6 separate regions of the Homo sapiens genome follow, and all the other regions are linked to region 1. Evidence: promoter capture Hi-C in 16 types of primary human blood cells and fetal thymus (Javierre and others, 2016). All regions are on one chromosome and are shown on one strand. The core of a region is centred on a gene start or on the middle of the fragment in contact, and the rest is flanking DNA. Distances in the headings are between cores, read along the strand shown. Region 1 holds the start of SNRPB2 (small nuclear ribonucleoprotein polypeptide B2). Region 2 overlaps ESF1 (ESF1 nucleolar pre-rRNA processing protein). Region 3 overlaps ESF1 (ESF1 nucleolar pre-rRNA processing protein). Region 4 overlaps NDUFAF5 (NADH:ubiquinone oxidoreductase complex assembly factor 5). Region 5 overlaps NDUFAF5 (NADH:ubiquinone oxidoreductase complex assembly factor 5). Region 6 has its middle 8.3 kb from the start of SCP2D1.

Region 1 (3,447 bases), core at 456-2,955:
AAATTGTATGATTTGGTCTGATATCCATGTTTGTGTTAAATTCTTCAGGAGACAGTAAAAAATCTGTTATAAAAAGGAAGGAGTAAATTATACTGGACTGTGGCATAAGGACACAACACAAGAATTATTAACTTTTCATTTCTCTTTCAATCCCAGTTGTCAGAAAATGTCAGTTTGGCTGTAGCCTTTATTGTATCTCCAGCACCTACTAGCCCTCCTTTTCATACAGAAGAAGAACAGTTTCTCACATTCAAAACTTGGAGCACCAATACCTAGCCAGATTTTAGTAACACCATTTAATTCAACACATTTATTTTTACACTTACGTTTCACTTATGACACGTGACATTTTCTTTCCACCTCCTCAATGAAATAATTTTAAAATGTAGATTTGAAGAAAAATGACCAAAGTAGCAAATGTACATCCAGTAAAAATCATAAGGTTAGACATTAATGAAGTTTGCCAACTACTTAATGGGTGCACTTACAAAGTCCTTCCATACCTATTAATTTGTATACAGCATCACCAAGCTGTCTGGACTCCAAGGTTATCTCTAACCGACTTGAAAGAAAGGAGCTCAATGACAGCAGTGTGGCATGACGATTAAACTCAGATTCCAGTATCAGCCAGATGTGAATTCAAATCCTATTTATGCTTCTTACTAGCTGTTTGCCTGAGGGAAGTTCCTTAACCTCTCAGGTCCTCATCAGTAAAATAAGAATGGTAACAGAACCTACCCAATAGAACTCAGAAGACTAAATGAATTCTAGCACAGTTCTGCATCAGCGGTAAACACTTAAGAGTAGCTATTATTAACAGCTATTACCAGGTAAGGAACTTGCCTAAGGTCACACAGCTAATAAGCATCAGGCCTGGAAATTCAGCCCTTGCTTTCTCCTCTACACTTGTCTTCCTCATATACCACACTATTGCATTTTTTACATGGTTTTTACTTGCAAATTGTGAACTTGGATGATTTCCTTGTGTGCCCCACATATTCCTTTATCTCACAGTATTTACAGAGCATCCACTGTATGTGAACTGCATTGGATGATTGACAAGGGAAGAGCCTACAAGCAGGGGCTGCACTTGTGCAGGTAACAGGTAAAACGTAACGCTTCTCAAAGCCTTGCGACCCCCTAAATCGAAATCTGGAGAAGGGGCAGGGGTCGCAAAGGAGACGACGAAAGGGAAGTGACTGAGGCAGAGGTCAAAGTGAAGGTAGGGGGACAAAGGGGAGGCTCTTGCAGGGTTTCATGCGAGGTTTGATCGTGGGCTGCGTTGTTACAGGGACACCCTGAATTACCCGCCACCACCAAAAGGGAGCCGCTGGAAGACACCTGAAAGCGCAGTGAACTGTCCACGCCTCGCACGAGCAGACTGACATTAACTATCCTTTACTTCGTACGCGCAAGCCTCCCGCCTCTCCAGACACAAGCACCTTCGCCCAAGGCCCCCTAACGAAGTCCAAGGGAGCTGCCACGCGATGCCCGGCCCCAGAGTCAGTCTCCTCACCCCCAAGCCTGCCCCTCCGAGATCCAAACCCGGGCCAAACGCGTACCCACCCCAGCTTCGCGCTTCGTCCGCTCCCAGCTGCAACAGGGGAGAAAAGGGCCGAGGAGCCAGGAAAACCGAAACAGCGAGGTAGAAGGCGCACGAACCCACCTAAGGCCTACGCCGACTACTGTAAGAACCAAAAGCAGGAAACGGAGCCAGGCACCGGAAGCAACGTAGCCACGCTCCTCAATCGAGCGCCGACAAGTCTAGAAGCCGAGCACAGAGCCGATCGATGCTTCCGGGTCTCTGGCAGCCAGGGCTGGCAATCTCTCTGCGCGTGCGTCTGCCCTGCGGGCAGGAGAAGAGTCCGGAAATGGAAATGGGGAAAGAGAAGGGGGTTGTGAGGACCATGCTGCGAGGGAATAGTGAAGGGGAGTGAATCATTTCCCCTACCACGACCTTGCGAAGCTTTACCCGGCGCAACAGTGCCTTCCACCTTTACAAATCCTATGTAATTTTACAGGCGCTGCCCCTCATGCTATGGGGCAGTTAGTCCTGGTTTCGCCCTTCTTTGGGCTCTAGCTACCCCGGTTTAAAATCACCTTTAGGATAGCCAGTTCCTCCTGCCTCCGAGTCTCCTCTGATTCATGGGGCTCTGCAGGAACTGTCCTCCAACACTGTGCTGATGAACTTGAATCTCAGAGGCTACTCAGTTTGAGGGCCCAGGGCAGACAGAACTGGTGTCTGCCCAATTCTCATCTCTCACCAGATAAGGCAACCATGCTGACTAGAACCCAGTCATCTGTAAGATCATCTGCCTCAATTCACTCGAAAAAATAATTCCCTACCACCCTTCCCACTCTTTTCTTCCAACAAAAGGTCTAGATTTTTCTAGGGTATTCTAAGGAGTTAGTATTTATGCCAAGCTGAATGGGAGTTCCCAAAGTGCATGCATTCATTCATCCATCCATTCATCAGATGTCTGTAAAGCATCACCTGGAATATGAAATGGTTGTTAAGAGTCAACTGGAACCTAATCTTGTACCCTCTGCTTAACTAATCTCTCTGACCTTCACTTTTTTCATCTGTAAAATAGGGATCCTAATAGTACCTCCTTCTAGTTGTTGTAAGCATTAAATGAGCTAAAATAAATGTAAAGTGATTGGCACATTGTCAGACACAATAAATGCTCAAAAATGTTATTTCTGAATTCTGGCTATAACTTGGTTCTACTGGTGAGGCAGGTAGCTGTCAAATAAGTTGGTTTTATCAGCTGGGAATTTTTATTTTTTAAAAACACCCAAAGTTGCAACAACTTGAAAATAATATAAGCTTTTTAAGGGTGGGGTTTTTGTCTGCTCTGTTCACTCAAGTACCCTTAGTAATGGGAAAAGTGACTGATAATTAATATGCATTGGATAATTCAATGAATGACATGGAAAACTAGGCAACAGTAAAACAAATATGCTTTGAACATGCACCTGAGTGTAGAGAATGTTAAGGGATCACAGAAAAGCATCGTTTTATTATATAGATCTAAAACTAGAAGAAATGGCTGAGTGTAGTAGCTCACACCTGTAATCCTAGCATTTGGGGAGGCTGAGACAGGAGGACTGGTTGAGTCCAGGAGTTCAAAATCATCCTGGGCAACATAGTGAGATCTCATCTCTAAAATAAATAAACCAATGAGAAGAAATGTCCTATCTCAGTCAAAGAATTATATCTTTAACAAATTAAAAGAGAATATAAACTTAATATAAACAATTTCTAAATAACAAAGGACAAGCTGTTTTGCATATTACTATGAGCATCTCAGCAATTAGTTCTGTTTGATAATAATGAGGATGGCTACACTACTGAGAATAAACTATACTCTGTATTGTATAAGGGGATCTAGCCAAGAGTTGATAACTGTTAAAAGAGAATAAGATGTGATTATACAAAAACAC
Region 2 (3,447 bases), core at 280-2,779, 3.0 Mb after region 1:
TCCTCAGATAAACCCCACCTTGGTCATGGTACCTTATCTTTTTATATATTCCCAGCTTAATTTAGTAATATTTTATTAAAAATATTTGTACTTGTGGCAAAGAGGAATATGATCTGTAGTTTTCATTCCTCGTATTGGTTTTTGGTATTAGGGTAATGTTGACCTTATGAAGTGAAAATGTAAAATGAAAGATTATCATCTGTAATTCCACTATCCTAATTCAACCACTGGTTAAGAAGATTACAGTTTAATTTACCATTTCTCTGTTGTTGAATATGCAATCAGATTTCTAATCTTTCACTACAGTGGACTTATAACATTGAAAAAAAAATAGGACAGATCTCAAACCCACAAATAACAAGCTTTTCTTAAATTTCTTCATTTTCATGAGCAGCCAAGTAATTGGCTTGCCTTTTTAGGGCCTTTTAATTTTAAAAACTTTTAAAACAGAGGTGTGTTTTTCATCTCTCCCAGCCTAGAAATGTTTCCAAGCATGTCAGGACTAGTAGAGAACAACCAGGCCACAATGAGAAGCTGATGCCTAGCATTCAGGCTTAACTCACTAGTTAGTTACGTGACTTCCTTGCTCACACAGCAACTCTACATGTGCTGTAGATCAACCTGTGGTTCTCTCACAAGCTGTTAAAACTACCAGTGTCAAAACCTCAAATGTTAAATCCCAGATGCCAAGTATCTGGGATGTTATAAATAACCTATAGCTTTTTCCATATTTTGAATTATTTTCATAGGATAGTTTCCCAGAAATAGAGTTACTAAGAAAGGGCATGAATACTTTTTGTGTCTTGAAGTTATTGCCAAATTGCTTTCTGGAAGTGTTGTACCAGCTTATAATACCTTCAACAATCAGTAAGAGTGTCAGTTTCACGGAATTATCGTCAACATTGGGTATATATTTTTTACTTTTAATTGAATAGGGGAAAATTGATATTTTAATGTATGAGTTTCAAAGGTCTTAAACTGTAATATTTTGAAGGCCCCTAATGAGGTATTGTTATCTGTGAATCCTTATGTACATGCACGCATGCACATGCAAGTGTAAAGGGTTTTTCTGTGTGCTATACATATAAGATCATTGAGCAATCTTTCTGTACCTCAGTTTATTCATATGGAAATTGGAACTAATAATACCACTTTCTTGCTTAGAGATACTTACAAACGTTATAAACTACAAAGTACTTTCATGACGTGTATTTCAGTGAATTTATGTCTTAAGAAATGTGTGTTTTCTGTAACAGTTACCCTGAACCTCAGGACTTTTTTGATGTTATGCTTCAGTAAACCACGGAGGGTCAGTATGAGATTATACCGTATCATTCATTGGTTCTGTGGCTTGACTCTCCAAAATATTAACCTCTTCAGGAAAATAAGTACTCTTAATCACTAACATTTATTGTGGTTTGGTTTGATTTTTCAGAAGAAATTCTAGTTTAGACTATTTAAACGTTCTACCTTTTTACATTGGGTTATACAGTATAGTAACATGAGGAGTTTAATTTCTTAAGGGTAAGTATTAAGGGAACTGATAACAGGTTTGTGGGCATAACAACTGGAATGAGCTACTCTTTCTATCAATATTTTAGTTCCTATGGAAATGTAATAATACAATTTTATTAATTAGGATTATAAATAAGTAAAAATGTTGAATTATAAAATTTTTAAAGAAAGTTATACTTAATTATTTTGATGTATGTGAAGTTGTATTTCCTATCTCAATGCGTTGCTAAAGGTATCCTGCCAACTTACTAAGGAGTAGATAAGGTGATGCATATAATTAGCCAGTTGGGCCTTCATCAAGAAATGTACCTCGTTGAGGAATTTCTAATACACGTATAAATGAAGTGTAATCAGTTTTAACTCTTTATATAACTTCCCCTGTATTAATAGTCCAGTTAATCTACATAATATTTTTTGTAGATAATGCAAGCTGAATATAAACAATATATATGAAATTCCATCCAGAAATAAATAATGGCATGTTTGTTTATAATCTTAAATTTTTGATTATGGTAAAAGTCCTGTTTTTCTTAGCTATCTCTGGCCTAATAGATATTAGTGAAATGGATAGCTGGTCTTTTTTCTACTCAGCACTCTACAGAACCCCAACTTCTCTTCCTTACTCCATCAAATACTTACTGAATACCTACTCTGTGCCGGGAATTATTCTATACACTGTGTGAACAAAACATAAAAATCCCTGAACTCACAGATCTTATACTCCGGTGAAGGAGAAACTAAACAGATGACAGATATATAAGAAACATATTTGACCAGGAACTAAAGAAAGTAGAGGTCAGGGAGTGAGCCTGGCCCAGGAAGACTGTGTGAGCAGAGGAAGTAGCATAGGAGTATCCTTGAAGCTATACTTTGTCTCTTGTGTTTGAGGAATCCAAGGAGAACAGTATGACTACAGTGGAGGACAGAAGTAACTGAGATCAGAGAGGTAGTTTGGGGCCAGACATGAAAGCCTTGTAGGCCATTATAAAGACATGAATTTCTGTGACTGAGATGAGAAACCACTGGAGAGTTTTGAGCTCAGGAGCAGTCAAATCTGACTTTTATATTTAACAGGATCATTCTTGCTGCTATAGATAAGTAGATTAAAGTGGGGGGCAAGGACCAAATTGGGGAGATCAATCAAATGGCTGTTGGAGTAATTTTCAGATAATGAAGCTTGTGGATGGAACATGTTTGCAAGGGAGCATCAAGAATTTTTTTTTTCATACATTAAGTTCAAGATGCCCATTGATACCTAAATAGACATGCCAAGGAATCAGTTGGTTATACAGTTAAGAGTACAGGGCTGGTAGAGATATAAATTAGAGAATCTTCATTGTATAAATCTCTGAAAGTGAATAAGAACAACAAGGTAGTGAATATAGGTAAAAAAGAAAGGTTCAAAAGCTGATCCTTGGAGCACTCTAACATCTAGAGGTAGAGGACATGAGCCTGGACCATTCCGAGCAGCTGGAGAGGCTATCAGAGAAGCAGGAGGAAATTCAGAATTGCGGGGTATTCAGCCTGCCAATAAAGAAGGCATTTCAGTGAGAATATGGGTCAATAAAATACAGGCTGAGAATGACCATTGGATTTAGCAGTGTGAAGCTCACTGGTGATATTGAATGGTTTTTGTGGGATGATGGGGGATGAAAGTAGTATGGTTTGAAGGAAGAATGGGAAGAGAAGAATTAGAGACAGTAAGTAGAGGCAACTCTTTTTCTAAAATATTTGATAGAAAGTTGCAAGCACCATGACACGTAAAAAAAAGCACTTCAAAATGTAACTTCCAAAAACTAAGACATGCTTCCATTATAAGCACGTTGCCACTTTCACACCAAGGGAATTGTTAGTCTCAGACTACTAGAGAGATTAACTTATGCCTAGTGGTCCATTATTGGAATGCTAAGCATGTGGAAGTTATTTATATCC
Region 3 (3,447 bases), core at 453-2,952, 3.0 Mb after region 1:
GGTTATATGATTGTTTACACATTAAAAATCCAAAGAAATAAAAGCTCAGTAAAGGGACAGCATATAAGAAGTGTTTTTAACAATAAATTGCATTCCTTATTGCTAACACTGGCCAATTAAGGAAAAAATCTAATTATACTAGAAACAAAACCACATAAAGTTCTTGGAAATTACCTTAATAAACACAAATGACCTATGTGAAGTAAACTGTAACACTTGATAAATTTGAAAAACTTACATAAATTTTGAGGATACCATATTTCAAGCCAACCTAATAATTAAGAATCCAGGCTTTGCATTATTGCAGACCTGGGTTCAAATCTTGATTCTCGTAAGTGTTATGTGATCCTGGACACTTAATTAATCTCTCAAGTATGTTTACATCTTTCCAATATATCCAAATGGATATAACAATAGTATTGGTGATTGTAAGGATTAAGTATAAAGGAGCTTGAACTAAGTATTTAGTGCAGTGCCTGAAATAGCCCTGCCCTCAATCATTATTAGAGATTGAGTCTCCCTTATCCAAAATGCTTGGGATCAGAAGTGTTTAGAATTTCAGATTTTGAAATAAAATTGCATTATATATACTTACTGGATGAGCATCGCAATTCCAAAATCTGAAATGCGCCAATGAGCGTTTCCTTTGAACCTCACGTTGACAGTCAAAAAGTTTGGAATTTTGGATTTGGGATTTGGGATGCTCAACCTGTATTATTCTGTTTAAATATTTAAAGATGTTATGTCTACTGTTCTAGGGTAATTTTGATCAAAATCCCAGTTCAAGTCAAAGTTAAGAAAAAGGATACCAATAATCATCTAAAAGAATAAACAAATTAAGAGTAGCTAATAAACTATTTTTTTTTTTTTGAGATGGAGTCTCGCTCTGTCGCCCAGGCTGGAGTGCAGTGGCGCAATCTCGGCTCACTGCAAGCTCCGCCTCCCGGGTTCACGCCATTCTCCTGCCTCAGCCTCCTGAGTAGCTGGGACTACAGGCGCCCACCACCACGCCCGGCTAATTTTTTGTATTTTTAGTAGAGACGGGTTTTCACTGTGTTAGCCAGGATGGTCTCGATCTCCTGACCTCATGATCCGCCCGCCTCGGCCTCCCAAAGTGCTGGGATTACAGGTGTGAGCCACCGCGCCTGGCCTAGACTAGCTAATAAACTTTTGAGAAATCATGCTAATATAAAAACTCACCCTGTCGCTTCTCGGCCTTTTGGCTAAGATCAAGTGTAAAAACTCACCCTACAAGTTACAATATCTAAACATTTCATGATGCTATGGGGGTTGACAGGTTTGGGTAAAAATGGGACAAATTGGTAGAACAGAATAGATAGAAAGAGTTCATATGATAACTTAGATCAAAATAGGCTGCTTGAATATTTGGACAAATGAACAGGTCATTGGATAGAGAACTTGGTTCAGATCTTCACCTCCTAATAGCTCCAGCGAAATTCTAGATGAAGCAAAGGAAAAAAAAATTAAAAGTCAAGCCAAAGAAACAATTTAAAAACCCTGTGTTTTAGGCAATAGTGAGAATTTCTAGACTTAGAAAAGAGGAAAAAAAAGAATCAAAAGATGTGACTACATATATATTATAAACTTACATATTAAACCTATTGTGTATATACTATTCAAGTTAGTAAGAAAAACTTGGATCATCTTGTTGATAAATTGCATATTTCAGACAGTTTAAAAAAGCATGTGTTCATTAACAAATGTATATTAAGCCTAGTAGTATCAAAACAATGTCATTAATACAATTATTTCTTGACTCTTAAAGTAGGCAAGATTTTAGAAGATACCACACCTGGTGAGAGTGAATTCTTTTTCTTATATCGAGACTATACCTAATCTGTATAAGGTTGTCGTCAGTTCTGTTCTATTTCTTTAAAAGAAAGCACTGGATAAATGGTATGACAGAGATAAGTTGGTTATTACAAAATTGATCTTCATTATATGTTTATTTTTCTGTATTTCATGTAAACTAATTCAGTCATTTTTCATGTGTGTGTTTTTATTCACATTTCCTTGAGCTTAGCATCTTGTTTTGCTTTTAATTTTTCGTTTGGATCTCGGAACCATCTTGTCCCAGGTGGTATGTGGAGGAGATACTCTTATTTTTGTTTCCAAGCCTCGTATCTTGTTAGTCTCTAGCCAAAGTGATCTATTTTTAAATAAAATTTCTCAAGATGCTCTAGCTTCCTATAGTGGATTTGGAAGTGAGTCACCCTTACTGTTTTCATTGAGTCAAGTTGTGACTTTTAGAGTTCCTGACTTCGACAGGTCTAGATATTTGTGTAAAGGAATGTACAAATTACATTGATCCTATTTTTTTCTGTTTAGATATATCCTTCAGAATTTGGAAAGGAGAGGATGAAGGAAGAGCAAGTTCAAGGACCAGTAGAGCTATTAAGTATTCCTGAAGATGCCCCAGAAAAAGACTGGTATTAAATCACTATAGAACATAAAACTAAACCTCATAAATTCATGTCATTAGTTCAGAATTCTGGTCACCTTAATAGTTAAAACTAAAGTTTATACTTGTGCCATTCGTGGTTAAAACAGGTTGCAAAACAGATTTAAAGTCTGTTAAAAGTGGTACATTATTCCAAGAAGATTTTTGTTCGTGTATATTTCTATTTCTGTATTCATGAAAGTAATTATTGCAGTTTTTGAAAAACATTTCATGATTAAACTGATTTGGAGTTCTTTTGAATTCTTTCAGCCTCGTTGCTCTGAATTAGTACGTTTTGCTTTTTTTTTTGAGACATCATTGAAGCTCTGTTTGCCTTCAAATTATATAATTTTTTCTTATTTGAGAATCAAATAGAAAAGTGAAAGAATGATAAAACTTTTTTTTTTATCATCATGGTGCAATATAGAAAATAATTTAAGATAGTTTTTAAGCCACTAGGTGGAGCTATATTTGCACTTAATAAAAATGAGGGTTAAATAGATTAGTGACAGGAGAGAGCAGATGAAGACCTTCAAAGAAAGAGTTGTATCAGTGCTTTGTGTGGAACCTTAAAAAAAAAAAAAAAAAAAAGAATGTGTTGTAGTTAAGCAAAATCAAACTTATAGACTCTTAAGCAAACATTTTGCAAGATCAGGAATGTCTTTTAGCTAATGGTTTTCTAGCATATTTTATAATAGAATTATCTTTATTGGTTTTACTTGAGAAGGCAGTGTGTAATAGCAAAGTAACTATTCTGTGAGTTAAATTATAGATAAACACACGAATTCCCACACACTCCTTTCCTAGATACCAAATTCCAATCCAAATATCTGTACCTTGTGAGAATAATAAGTTGAGCTTAAGTATTTAATGTTTATAAAGGCAAAGTCATGAAGGAAAGATGGTTTGGTATGAAGGCCAGCTTGTAATATGTTTTTCTTGAAAGAATTACATTTATTTTTTAAAGGGAAATTTTTGTGTTTCTG
Region 4 (3,447 bases), core at 608-3,107, 2.9 Mb after region 1:
ACTCCAGCCTGGACAACAGTGCAAGACTGTCTCAGAAAAAAAAAAAGAAAAAAGAAGGCTGAAAGTTTTAGTGAAACAACCGAAGTACTAGATGAAAATATGGGTGGACTGGACATTTTACCCTTAGATGAAAAAGCCTAGGTAAACATAATTCAAAAGCCAGAAACTGTAAAGGAAAAGACTGATATATTTGATGATAAACTAATTAAAAACTTCTATTAATAGAAATCAATAAACAATGTAAACAACTGAGGAAAATATTTACAACATATACAATGAAGGATTAATATCCCTAAAAACCAAGCTCTTACAAATCACCTAGAATAAAAACACAAGATAGCTAAAGAGGACAAGGTGCAGGCATATCACAAAATTATTTACAAAATTCACAAGAAATACCAATAGTCAAAAGATATCAGCAGCTGTCAGACTGACCCAGACGAAAAGGCTGGCCCAGTGTTGCCAAAGCAAAGTAGTAAAAAGTACCTTTGTCATTGTTCAGTCTTTCTAAGGGCAGTCTGAAGATGTATGTCAAAAAATTTTTAAATGAACATCAAAATGAATCCATAAATTCCGCTACCAGGAATTTATACCCACGGAAAAAAATAAATCAAACATACAATGTGGCTTCACATAAGGATTTTCACTGCAGTGTTGGTTATTGAGAAACTAGAAACGTAACTGCCCTTCAATAGAAAGTTTAGCTAAATAAACTATGGAGTATTCATATATTAGAATACCATGTAGCCATTTAAAAAGATGATATATGACACACATAAGTATAAATTCACTGACAAAAAAAATGATGTGCCGTAAATAACATGGAATATTAGCATAGTAATGTTCATACACAGTTGTGTGTTGGGGGGGCGGGGACAGTTATATGTCTGCAAATGTGGAGACCAAGTGCCACCAATGGTTGCCTCTGAATGGTAGGACTAGGGGTGATAGGGGTGATTTTTCCTTTGTTCTTGATATTTCCTGTATGAGTTCCTTTTCATGTGTCAGAAAAGAAAGCTAGTTTGAAGGAAATAAAAATAAAGAAATAAAATATGAGAAAACACATCACGAGATTAGAAACCAACAGTATTAAAAAGCTACCTACCAAAGCATTTTCTGCAATGTCAGCTTGGAAAAACTTTCCAATAGTTTCCTGCAATGGAATAACTGAAGCTGAAACAAACAAATCCAGTCACAAACAATTGCTGACATTTCTAAAGGTAAAAGTGTTAATTACATTTTAATTTTCAGCTTTGTAAAGGTATATTTCTGCATAAAACCAGTATGGTACACAAATACTTTTAATAACACATATCCTTTGCTATATTTAACTATATGTAATAAAATAGAGAACATGAGTATGCGTATTCAACATTCCGAATTTACTACACTGGGTGAGGGCTTCCGTGTTAACTTTTCCATGGCATAACATGCTAAGAGCTATTTCCCCACTCCTGTGTCACAAAGGACCTGCTATGAGTTTCCCGCCTTTTAGTTGTTCATCCAAAGAGTTTACAGAGTAAAGAAAGACTTACAGGTAGAGGCTTAGGGTTCCATTTTCCCTGTTTCGCCTACCCTCTCTCCCTTCCAAAAGGAAAGGAGACTGTGCTATTTCTGCACCAGAAAAACACTTTCTTTCCCCCTCAGCCCTCTTTTCTCCGGGATCCTGCTCTCTCCATCTCCATCTCTATCAATCTTTAGTCTGTGTCTTCTGTGTCTCCTTCCTCCACCTTACAACAGGCACAAGCTTTCCAATTACAAAAAATCTCCTCCCTCTAGGTACCTTCTGGTTGTTTGGTTTATAATCCACAACTCTACTTCTTCCTAGATTCTTTCTCCCCATTCTGGGTATCTCTTTGCTTTCACTGCTCTGCTAACACTATCTGCAGTCTGTGCTCACTGCTCTCAGTCCTGCTTCACCTGACCTCTTTGAAGCACAGCATTGTCAACAGCCTACTAGAAGCTTCTTCAGAAGCTTCTACTCTGGCTGCCCTTCTCTATTAGAGAAGCCAATCCTTTTTTACTTTACCCACACCCACTTCCCTGTCTGAAACTTGGAAAGATTTCATGCTACCAACATGATGTTGCTAAATATGGAGCTGGGAAGAGTGCTCAATAGCTCTCATGAGCCAGCTCCAGCACACTCCTGTGAGGGGTGAAGAATTAGATGGACAGGATTATCTATCCCTGTCTCTCACTTGAAAATTTGAACTAAGAGACTTCGAGATAATAGCAGAGGTCCCTGGAGTTGGAAGAACATTTAGACTTCAGGGTATAGGCAGTGGTGTGCTGGCTCTTGGTTGGGGACTGCTTTGTAGCATTTGCCAACTTCCATGGTATAAATATTCCCACCAGGGCTGATGTCAAGCTATCAATATGATGTCACAGAACAGAGGTTGGGAAGAGATGCTAACAATTGGCTCTCACAGGCTGGCCTAAGCTAGCTTCAGCTACCCTTGGGTGTAGCATATTCATATGGGGCCACACACACTGATGAACACTACTATGGATAGACTACAGGGAGTAAAAAGAATGAAGGCAACCAGACAGCATTCATGTAGTACCAGAGTGCATGCGAACAGGAGGAACATTGTTATGGTGTTTCAAAGTTCCCATCTCTTGTGAGGCCTGGCTCTATTTCTGGATCCCTGAGTTACATAAGAGCCTCTCTGTAACAAATGTCTCTGTGTTTAAACTGGCTTCAGCACATTTTTGCTTTCAACAATCAAAAGATACCTTACTAAGACACTTTCCATCTTACTATTCCTGGCATCTTTATTGGCTCTTCCTCTTTCTCCCAACCCTAAGTACAATTGCAGAAGGTTCTTTTCTATATTCTTGCCTCAGAGAGTTTACCTATTTCTACGGCTTCAATTGTCACTTCTGAAAGGGACTTCCAAATAAGAACTATAGCCTCCTTTGACAGGTTTACTTTGCCTCACTTAATCCCCTTACCAACCTTTTGAGATGGGTATTATTGATCATATTTTATAGAAACTGAGGTCTAGAGCAATTGATTGGCCCAAGGTCTGAGTATACACAGACAGTGGCAGAGCTGAAGTTTGAAGCCCTGACTTCAAGTCAATGCTCTTAACCTCAATATCCCAATTCCAGTTCCACATTTCCAACTACCTGCCAGCTATTTATACTACCATATTCCACTGCCATCTCAAACTCAACATATCTAAAACAGGAATGATCCCGTGCTCCTTGCCACATCACATCCCCTGAATTTTCCAGTCACAAAAGGTGTAACTTAAACTCTAAAGTTATCTTGCAATAGTCATTTAATAAATACTCATTGTGATTTAGGTACTAGGATTTAGTAGTGATCAAAAATGAGCAAATCCAGTAAGAGAAGAAAGACACCAAATAAACATACATCAGGAGCTTGTAAGTGCTATGGAAGCAAATAAAGCAACTAGTCGGCAGAAAGCAGGGGCACTA
Region 5 (3,447 bases), core at 402-2,901, 2.9 Mb after region 1:
AATCTCAAAAGATTTCTACTACTCTCTAAAATAATGAATCTCTGCTACTAAAATCCTGTAAGTGTAACAACCCCAATTCATGCAGATTGACAGACACAAACTAGTAGGTTAATTATCATCAAGAAAAAGGTGGATCATATTCTTAGTGTCATGAAGCAGCTGGATAACCTTGGGCCAATCATCTGTGGTCTTTAAAGTGACCAGACTAGATGCTCCGTAAAGGCTTCTAGTGCTCACATTTTAACCATATCAAGTGACCAGAGGTAAACTGGGTCTCACATTGGAAGAGTCTGTTGGCTCAGGTATGGTGCTTTCATTTCTGCTCAACTTCTCGCTGCTATGGCTTAATTATGCATTAGTTATGGACAACACCAGTAGAAAAGAGATTTAATTTTTTAGACATAAACATGTGATGCACTAGAAATTCTAAAATGCCTTCTAACAATCAGTATTAGGATATACTAATTAAGATTAGTAGGCATAACACTCTCTGAAGGTCTGACCTACATCAGCCATACAGAAATTCAAGAGCACTACTGCAGAGCACAGGGCGTAACTGTGCAGCACTCCAGCCTTCCCTCACAAGCCACTCACACTGCCACACTGAAACTCCCTTCTTGCAGAAGCAGTGTGAGGGTGGTGGAAAGAATCTGGACTTTGGGATCACACTCCCAGTTTTAACTCTTATATAACCTGGGGCAAAGTCATTCAACCTCTATCGAATTCCAGTTTTGCCATCTACAAAAGAGTAACACCTCCTAATGCATCATGGGGGACCTCTACTGAAGACCACCTGGGAAAAACTGAAACTTTGGGACTTCCGACTCGCCCTGGGCTTTGAGATAACAGAAAAATCTGGCTAGTAGGTTAACTGTTTAAGACTCTCACAGTGTTTTTAAGGTGAAGTTCAACTGCTTATCAAAAATAAACCTAATTTATTACAGTTTACTAAAAACAATACTGAGTATTGTTTAAAAAAATAACTGAACTTACCTTAAGACCACTGTGAAAGCCTTGAAAATTTCTCATGCATTCATCAGCTGATATGCAGCTTGTTTTGTAAAATTAGGTCAACATTCTGGACTTTTGTTCTGTGAATTAATAATAGCAGCTTAAATGAGACACACCACAACCATTAAGAAAAAAAATACACCACAAATGTAAAATCCCAGAAACAAATTTGGAAGTAACATGATCTTCTAGTCAGCAGAATGGCACACCTGAAAGTCTCCCACGGTCTCCCTGCCTCCATCATCCCCTGACTATGCTTCTTCCCATCTCATCTGCCTCTGACTTTTTCCAAGGCAGAATGGCTAAGATTTCAGCATACAAATCAGGCTGTTCGACTAGGTTTAAATCCTGGCTCTACCACTCACTAATTACAACATCTGGGACAAGTTACTTAACTTCTGCCTGGGTTTCCTCACACATTAAAAAAAAACAAACAAACAGATTAACCATGTTAGCTCTAGTCTTCCCTTCCTCATAAACTATGCCTCATAAACAATGCTGGAAGGTGAGCTTTCTAACACACACAAATGTATCTCATTTTCTCTCCTCTATGCAAAATTCTTCCAAGACATTACAACGCTAATCTGAAAAAAATCTAGAAGCCTCTGATCCTATTCATTTCCCATCATCTCCCCGTTCTATATACTCAAGGAATACTGGATTATGGTACCATTCCTTAATCAGGAGAGTGAAGGATGTGCATATCCTATTCTACCTCCATGTGGATGCAATGTTAGCTCCCCTAAACCTCAACCCACCTTTCATTCTCCGGGCAAACTCATTTTCGTTTAGGTGCTGCCTCTTTTGCAAAAGCATTCCTGACCCCCTAAGCAGATTTAGGGCCTTTTCCTCCTGTGTTTCTCCTTGTACTTTATTATAAATGATTTCATTTTACAGTTGAATGTAGGAGTCTGTCTCTATCTTTGCGTTCTTCTTCCCTAGTACAACATAAGCTCCCTGAGATCAGGAACTACGTATTTCCACCACTGGCTCCGTGGTTGGCACATGGGTAGATGCTCAATAAACGCTAAGTGAAGGTATATAAAACCAACCTGTTAATGATTATATCTATTTTGTTAAATATCATTTTATAAGTGTAAATAATTTCTCTTAATATTCCTAAGGATAAGATGTATCAAAAACTAAGACATCTGATTTCTGTAACAGACATTACAGTTAAGAAAAAGCAGCATTACGAAAGCATCTGAAAGTATTAGGCCATAGTTTCTGAAAATATACGGTCTATTTAAAACCTTTAGGAGACTCACACCTGTAATCCCAGCACTTTGGGAGGCCAAGGTGGGTGGATCACCTGAGGTCAGGAGTTCAAGACCAGCCTGGCCAACATGGTGAAACCCTGTCTCTACTAAAAATACAAAAATTAGCCAGGTGTGGTGGCACATGCCTGTAATCTCAGCTACTAGGGAGGCTGAAGCAGGAGAATTACTTGAACCCAGGAGGCAGAGGTTGCAGTGAGCCAAGATTGTGCCACTGCACTCTAGCCTAGGCGACAGAGTGAGACTCCATCTGAAAAACAAACAAACAAGAAACCTTTAGGAAAAGAGGGGGTTATCAATTTGGAAGGAGCACAAGGCTACCTTCTGGGAGACTGAAAATGTTCAATATTTTGTTCAGGATGGTGGTTAAAATACAAGCAGCTGTACCTTTAAGATTAATACATTTCGCTGAATATACATGTTAACCTGAATTTAAAGAATCACATACATATCAAATATGCAGTACAGGACTCTGAATTCAAATTGTAACTACAGATTCAGTGTGACCATGGACAAGATACTTAACTTCTCGATGCCTCAATTTGCTCACCGGTAAAATTAGGGTATTAGAAAAACCTCAGAGAATTGCACTAAGCACAGAGTTAAGTGCTGCTCATATGTTGAAATCAGTGGGAAGTAACTTTTTCCAACAGAGAGGTCTAATTTCTAGTATGTTTCTCTTTTCTTTCTTGAAATGAATCATGAACACAGATTCTACAGCAGAACAAAAATAAATGCTGTATTTGAATAACATTTTTATTATTAGAGCCCGAGTGATATATCATCAGCCCACCATCATCTCTCAAGCCTTTGGATAAAGTGGCTCCTTGATTACATCAGGTAAGTCCTTGGGGTATGCTGGGGAAGGGGTGTGTGTGACTTATTACTGATCCTCTGTTATCTTGGCCATGCATGCTACAGGCTGCCAATCCCTCTATTAATGAATGAAAACTGATGACAATGGTAAGATTTCAGCTACGCATCTTTCCGTTTGCAGAGTGACAGAAGCTCCACACTCAGAGGAGGCTGCACGATAGGTCAAATGAACCTTGTTACAGATGGGCAACACAAGAAGGAACAGGGTCAGTTCAGACAGTGCCAGGGCAGAGCCAAGAAGCATGAGTTTGGCAGCTAATTCTGCCACTTGACAGGTAACTGT
Region 6 (3,447 bases), core at 350-2,849, 2.1 Mb before region 1:
AAAATTTTAAAAACAACTCAAATAAATAAGTAAACTGCGTAACTATCTAGTCCTTTCAAGCTTTGGGAAAGGACTTCTGGACTAAGCCTCCACTTGGGAAGCTCTCCAAAATAGTTTTCCAAAGTACCATTTTGTATTCCCACAAGCAAATGCATGAGGATTCTAGTTGCTCTGTGTCAGGGACTGAATATTTGTGTCCTCCCAAAATTCAAATATTTATTAAATCCTAATCTCCAACATCATGATATTAGGAGGCTGGGACTTTAGGAGGCAATTAAATTGGGTAGGCTATGATGGGATTAATGCGCTTATAAGAAAAGAGGAGGCCAGGCACAGTGCTTCACACCTATAACACCAGCATTTTGGGAGGCCAAGGTGGGAGGATCACTTGTGTCCAGGAGTCTGAGACCAGCCTGGGCAACATAGTGGAACTTCATCTCTACAAAAAAAAAGAGAGAGAGAAGAAGAAAGAAGAAGAAGAAGGAGGAGGAGGAGAAGGAAGAAGAACAGAGAAGAGAGAATAACAGGAAGAGAGCCCCCCTGCCCATCCTGAACATGCTCTAAGCCAGAAGATGGCCATCTACCAGCCAGGAAGCGGGCCTTCAGGAGACACTGAATGTGCGGGCACAGTGATCTTGGACTTCCTGGCCTCCAGAATTGTAAGAAATAAATTTCTGTCATCTAAGCCACCTAGTCTATAATATTTTGTTACAGCAGCTCAACCTAAGACACTCTGCACACTTGTCAGCACTTGGTTGGTTGGTTGGTTGTTCCACCATTCATCTTCATCTGTTTTGTGTTGCTATGAAGGAATATCTGAGGCTGGATAATTTATGAAAAAAAAAAAAGAGGTTTATTTGGCTTATGGTTCTGCAGGCTGTACAAGAAGCATCTGCTTCTGGTGAAGGCCTCAGGCCCCTTCCATTCATGGCAGAAGGCAAAGGGGAACCAGTGTGTACAGAGATCACATGGGGGCAGCAAGGCGGGGGAAGGTGCCAGGCTGTTTGTAACAACCAGCTTTCTCAGGAATTAACAGAGCAATAACTCACTCGCCTCATCCCCGAAAAGGGAAGGCATTAATCTCTTTATGAGGTTATCCTCTCTTCATGAAGATCCATCCCCATGACTCAGCCACCTCTCATTAGGCCCCACCTCTAACACTGGATATCAGATTTCAACATGAGATGTGGAGGAAACACACATTCCAACTACAGCATCATTCTATATGTACGCATATATGTCTGCAGCCCACATATCTTTGAGTTCTAAGACAGTGACAGCAGCAACAGGAAACCTGTTCAGAGGCAGTGGTGAAAAATTTTTTTATATTTGATATGGCTTCAGGAAATGGCATGTATTACTGTGGGTGAGGCTCTTATCTAAGTAGAATTTCACCTCTTACTCTGTTGATGCAAAGACTGTGATAGGTCAAATTACAGGTCTTAATCCATCACACCTGTAGTGGGATTATTATGTAGTCGTAAGTGGAGCAAAATTACCCACCCTTGTGAAGGTGGCTGTGTCCGTGGGGTTTGCTTTGGCCAGCGGGATGTTATCGGACATGATGTGAGCAGAGGCTTGAAATGTCCTTGCGCAGTGGGGCTTTCATGCTTGTGCTTCTGCCATGGCCATGACAAGGTCATGCCCTAGGGAGCTGCTGGTCCAGGAAGGATGAGACACGTGTGGAGCTGACCTAAATCAGTCAAGCAGGAAATTACCATGTAGACCCACGAGAATAAATTCTGCTCATTTTAATCCTCTGAGCTTTTAAGTGGTTTGTTACTCAGCATTACTGTGGCCCTAACTGACTGTGGTAAAGTCCAAAAAAAGTAATAGCTGGGCTTGCAAACCAGTCCTTATGGGCAAAGTCTTCAGTACTTAAACAGACAAATCTTACTGAAGTTACAGCCTGCAGTCTTTCCACACAGCAGACAGACAGACACATTCAGTGCTAGGGCTTGGCTGAGATGATGACATAATGTTCCCTACCTGAGTCAGGCTCCACACACTCAGTTGCTTTTGTCTACACACTTGCTACTTAAAATGTTTGTGGACCAGCATCAGTGGCATCCCTGGGAGCTGGTTAGAAATATGGAATCTCAGATCCCACGCAGACCTGCTTAATTGGTGTCCACATTTTAACAAGATGCCCAATGATTCCTCTGCTCATTAAAATGTGTAATATGCTGAACTACAACACGAAGATAGAGAGATTAGATAGAGATAGATGATAGATATAGATATAGTTATAGACGATATAGATATAGATAAATATGATCCCCCACATACCTGTTGCATTCTCGCTGGTTTGAAAATAAAAACTATCTCGTAATTTGTCTCTAGGTTAAAGTTTACAACACACACACACACACACACACACACACACACTTTGGGAAAAACATGATTCAAACTGAGAAGAAACATTTAATTTAAACATTTTCAAGTAAAAATGTTTTATTTTTTTCTTCATTTGCTTTTTTATTAATAGACTTTATTCTTTAGAGCAGTTTTAGGTTTATAGAACATTTGAGAAGCATGGAAAGTTCTGAAACACTTCATCTCCCTGCTCCCCTGCTTAGTTTCCCCTATTTTTAATATCTTGCATCAGTGTGGTACATTTGTTACAACTGATGAGCCCATATTGATACATTATTTTTAATTAAGGTCCACAGTTAATGTGTTAAGGTTCACACTTAGTGAGGTACATTACATGGGCTTTGCCGAATGCATAATGTCATGTATCCACCACTACAGTATCATACAGAGCAGCTTCACTGCCCTAAAAATCCTCGGAACTCTGTCTATTCATCCTTCCCTCCTCCCTAACCTCTGGCAATCACTTATCTTTTCACTGTCTAAAGTTTGGCCCTTTACAGAATATCATATAGCGGAATCGTACAGGATGTGGCCTTTTCAGATTGGCTTCTTTCACTTAGCAATGTGCATTTTAAGTTTTCTCCATGTCTTTTTGTATCTTGATAGCTCATTTCTTTTCATCACTAAATAATATCATATGGCTACAACACAGTTTATCTATTCACCTACTGAAGAACATCTTGGTAACTTCCAGCTTTTGCCAGTTATTTAAAAAGCTGCTATAAACACTTGTGTGCAAAATTTTGTGTGGACATAAGCTTATGCTGTTTTATAGGTTTTTTAAAATACTGAAGTATTTAACAACTGAGCCAATTGTTGATATTATTATTATTGTTGTTAATATTTACTGAGCTATAACAATCCTCCAAGCACTGTAGTAAAGCCCTTTAAACCTCATAATATTCTGGGGTAGTTACTAACATTGTTCTCACCTTAGAAATGAGGAAATTGAGAGGCTGAGTAGCTTGTCCAAAGGCACATAGCTAACTACTTTGAACCCAAGAGTTTATGGGTTTGGACATTTCAAAACCAAAATTTTTGTTTCACCTGATCCTTCTGGAATAATGTTTG

The links. Contacts are between HindIII fragments. The CHiCAGO score rates a contact against its expected background, and 5 or more counts as called.
Region 2: a contact is called between a fragment that was not itself captured here and the fragment with the promoter of SNRPB2 in region 1, in 2 of 17 cell types (total CD4 T cells and total B cells). The highest score is 6.2, in total CD4 T cells.
Region 3: a fragment that was not itself captured here is called in contact with the fragment with the promoter of SNRPB2 in region 1 in 7 of 17 cell types (total CD4 T cells, non-activated CD4 T cells, total CD8 T cells and 4 more); the score reaches 15.0 in total CD4 T cells.
Region 4: a fragment that was not itself captured here is called in contact with the fragment with the promoter of SNRPB2 in region 1 in 8 of 17 cell types (naive CD8 T cells, total CD8 T cells, naive CD4 T cells and 5 more); the score reaches 16.1 in naive CD8 T cells.
Region 5: a contact is called between a fragment that was not itself captured here and the fragment with the promoter of SNRPB2 in region 1, in 6 of 17 cell types (naive CD8 T cells, activated CD4 T cells, non-activated CD4 T cells and 3 more). The highest score is 12.7, in naive CD8 T cells.
Region 6: a contact is called between a fragment that was not itself captured here and the fragment with the promoter of SNRPB2 in region 1, in 1 of 17 cell types (non-activated CD4 T cells). The highest score is 5.4, in non-activated CD4 T cells.

Annotation. Positions count from the first base shown.
Region 1 is chr20:16,728,284-16,731,730 of GRCh38, reverse strand. SNRPB2 (small nuclear ribonucleoprotein polypeptide B2) reads right to left here and starts at 1,705. Exons shown (of 7, transcript NM_003092.5): 1 at 1,567-1,705; 2 at 1-63. The coding sequence starts at 28. RefSeq lists a silencer at 1,248-1,297 and enhancers at 1,448-1,567, 1,618-1,667, 1,726-2,594. The HindIII fragment of the contact is 9,448 bases long and covers 1-1,968 here.
Region 2 is chr20:13,753,868-13,757,314 of GRCh38, reverse strand. All of the region lies in intron 9 of ESF1 (ESF1 nucleolar pre-rRNA processing protein), which reads left to right. Among named protein-coding and RNA genes, the nearest start is that of ESF1, 29 kb to the left of the region's middle. The HindIII fragment of the contact is 2,329 bases long and covers 365-2,693 here.
Region 3 is chr20:13,771,518-13,774,964 of GRCh38, reverse strand. It overlaps ESF1 (ESF1 nucleolar pre-rRNA processing protein), which reads left to right. Exons shown (of 14, transcript NM_001276380.2): 5 at 2,350-2,450. Among named protein-coding and RNA genes, the nearest start is that of ESF1, 12 kb to the left of the region's middle. The HindIII fragment of the contact is 5,034 bases long and covers 1-3,447 here.
Region 4 is chr20:13,790,886-13,794,332 of GRCh38, reverse strand. It overlaps NDUFAF5 (NADH:ubiquinone oxidoreductase complex assembly factor 5), which reads right to left. Exons shown (of 11, transcript NM_024120.5): 4 at 1,106-1,153. Among named protein-coding and RNA genes, the nearest start is that of NDUFAF5, 7.6 kb to the right of the region's middle. The HindIII fragment of the contact is 216 bases long and covers 1,750-1,965 here.
Region 5 is chr20:13,812,062-13,815,508 of GRCh38, reverse strand. The region is part of intron 8 of NDUFAF5 (NADH:ubiquinone oxidoreductase complex assembly factor 5); the gene reads right to left. Among named protein-coding and RNA genes, the nearest start is that of NDUFAF5, 29 kb to the right of the region's middle. The HindIII fragment of the contact is 7,931 bases long and covers 1-3,447 here.
Region 6 is chr20:18,803,806-18,807,252 of GRCh38, reverse strand. No RefSeq gene overlaps it. Among named protein-coding and RNA genes, the nearest start is that of SCP2D1, 8.3 kb to the left of the region's middle. The HindIII fragment of the contact is 3,074 bases long and covers 63-3,136 here.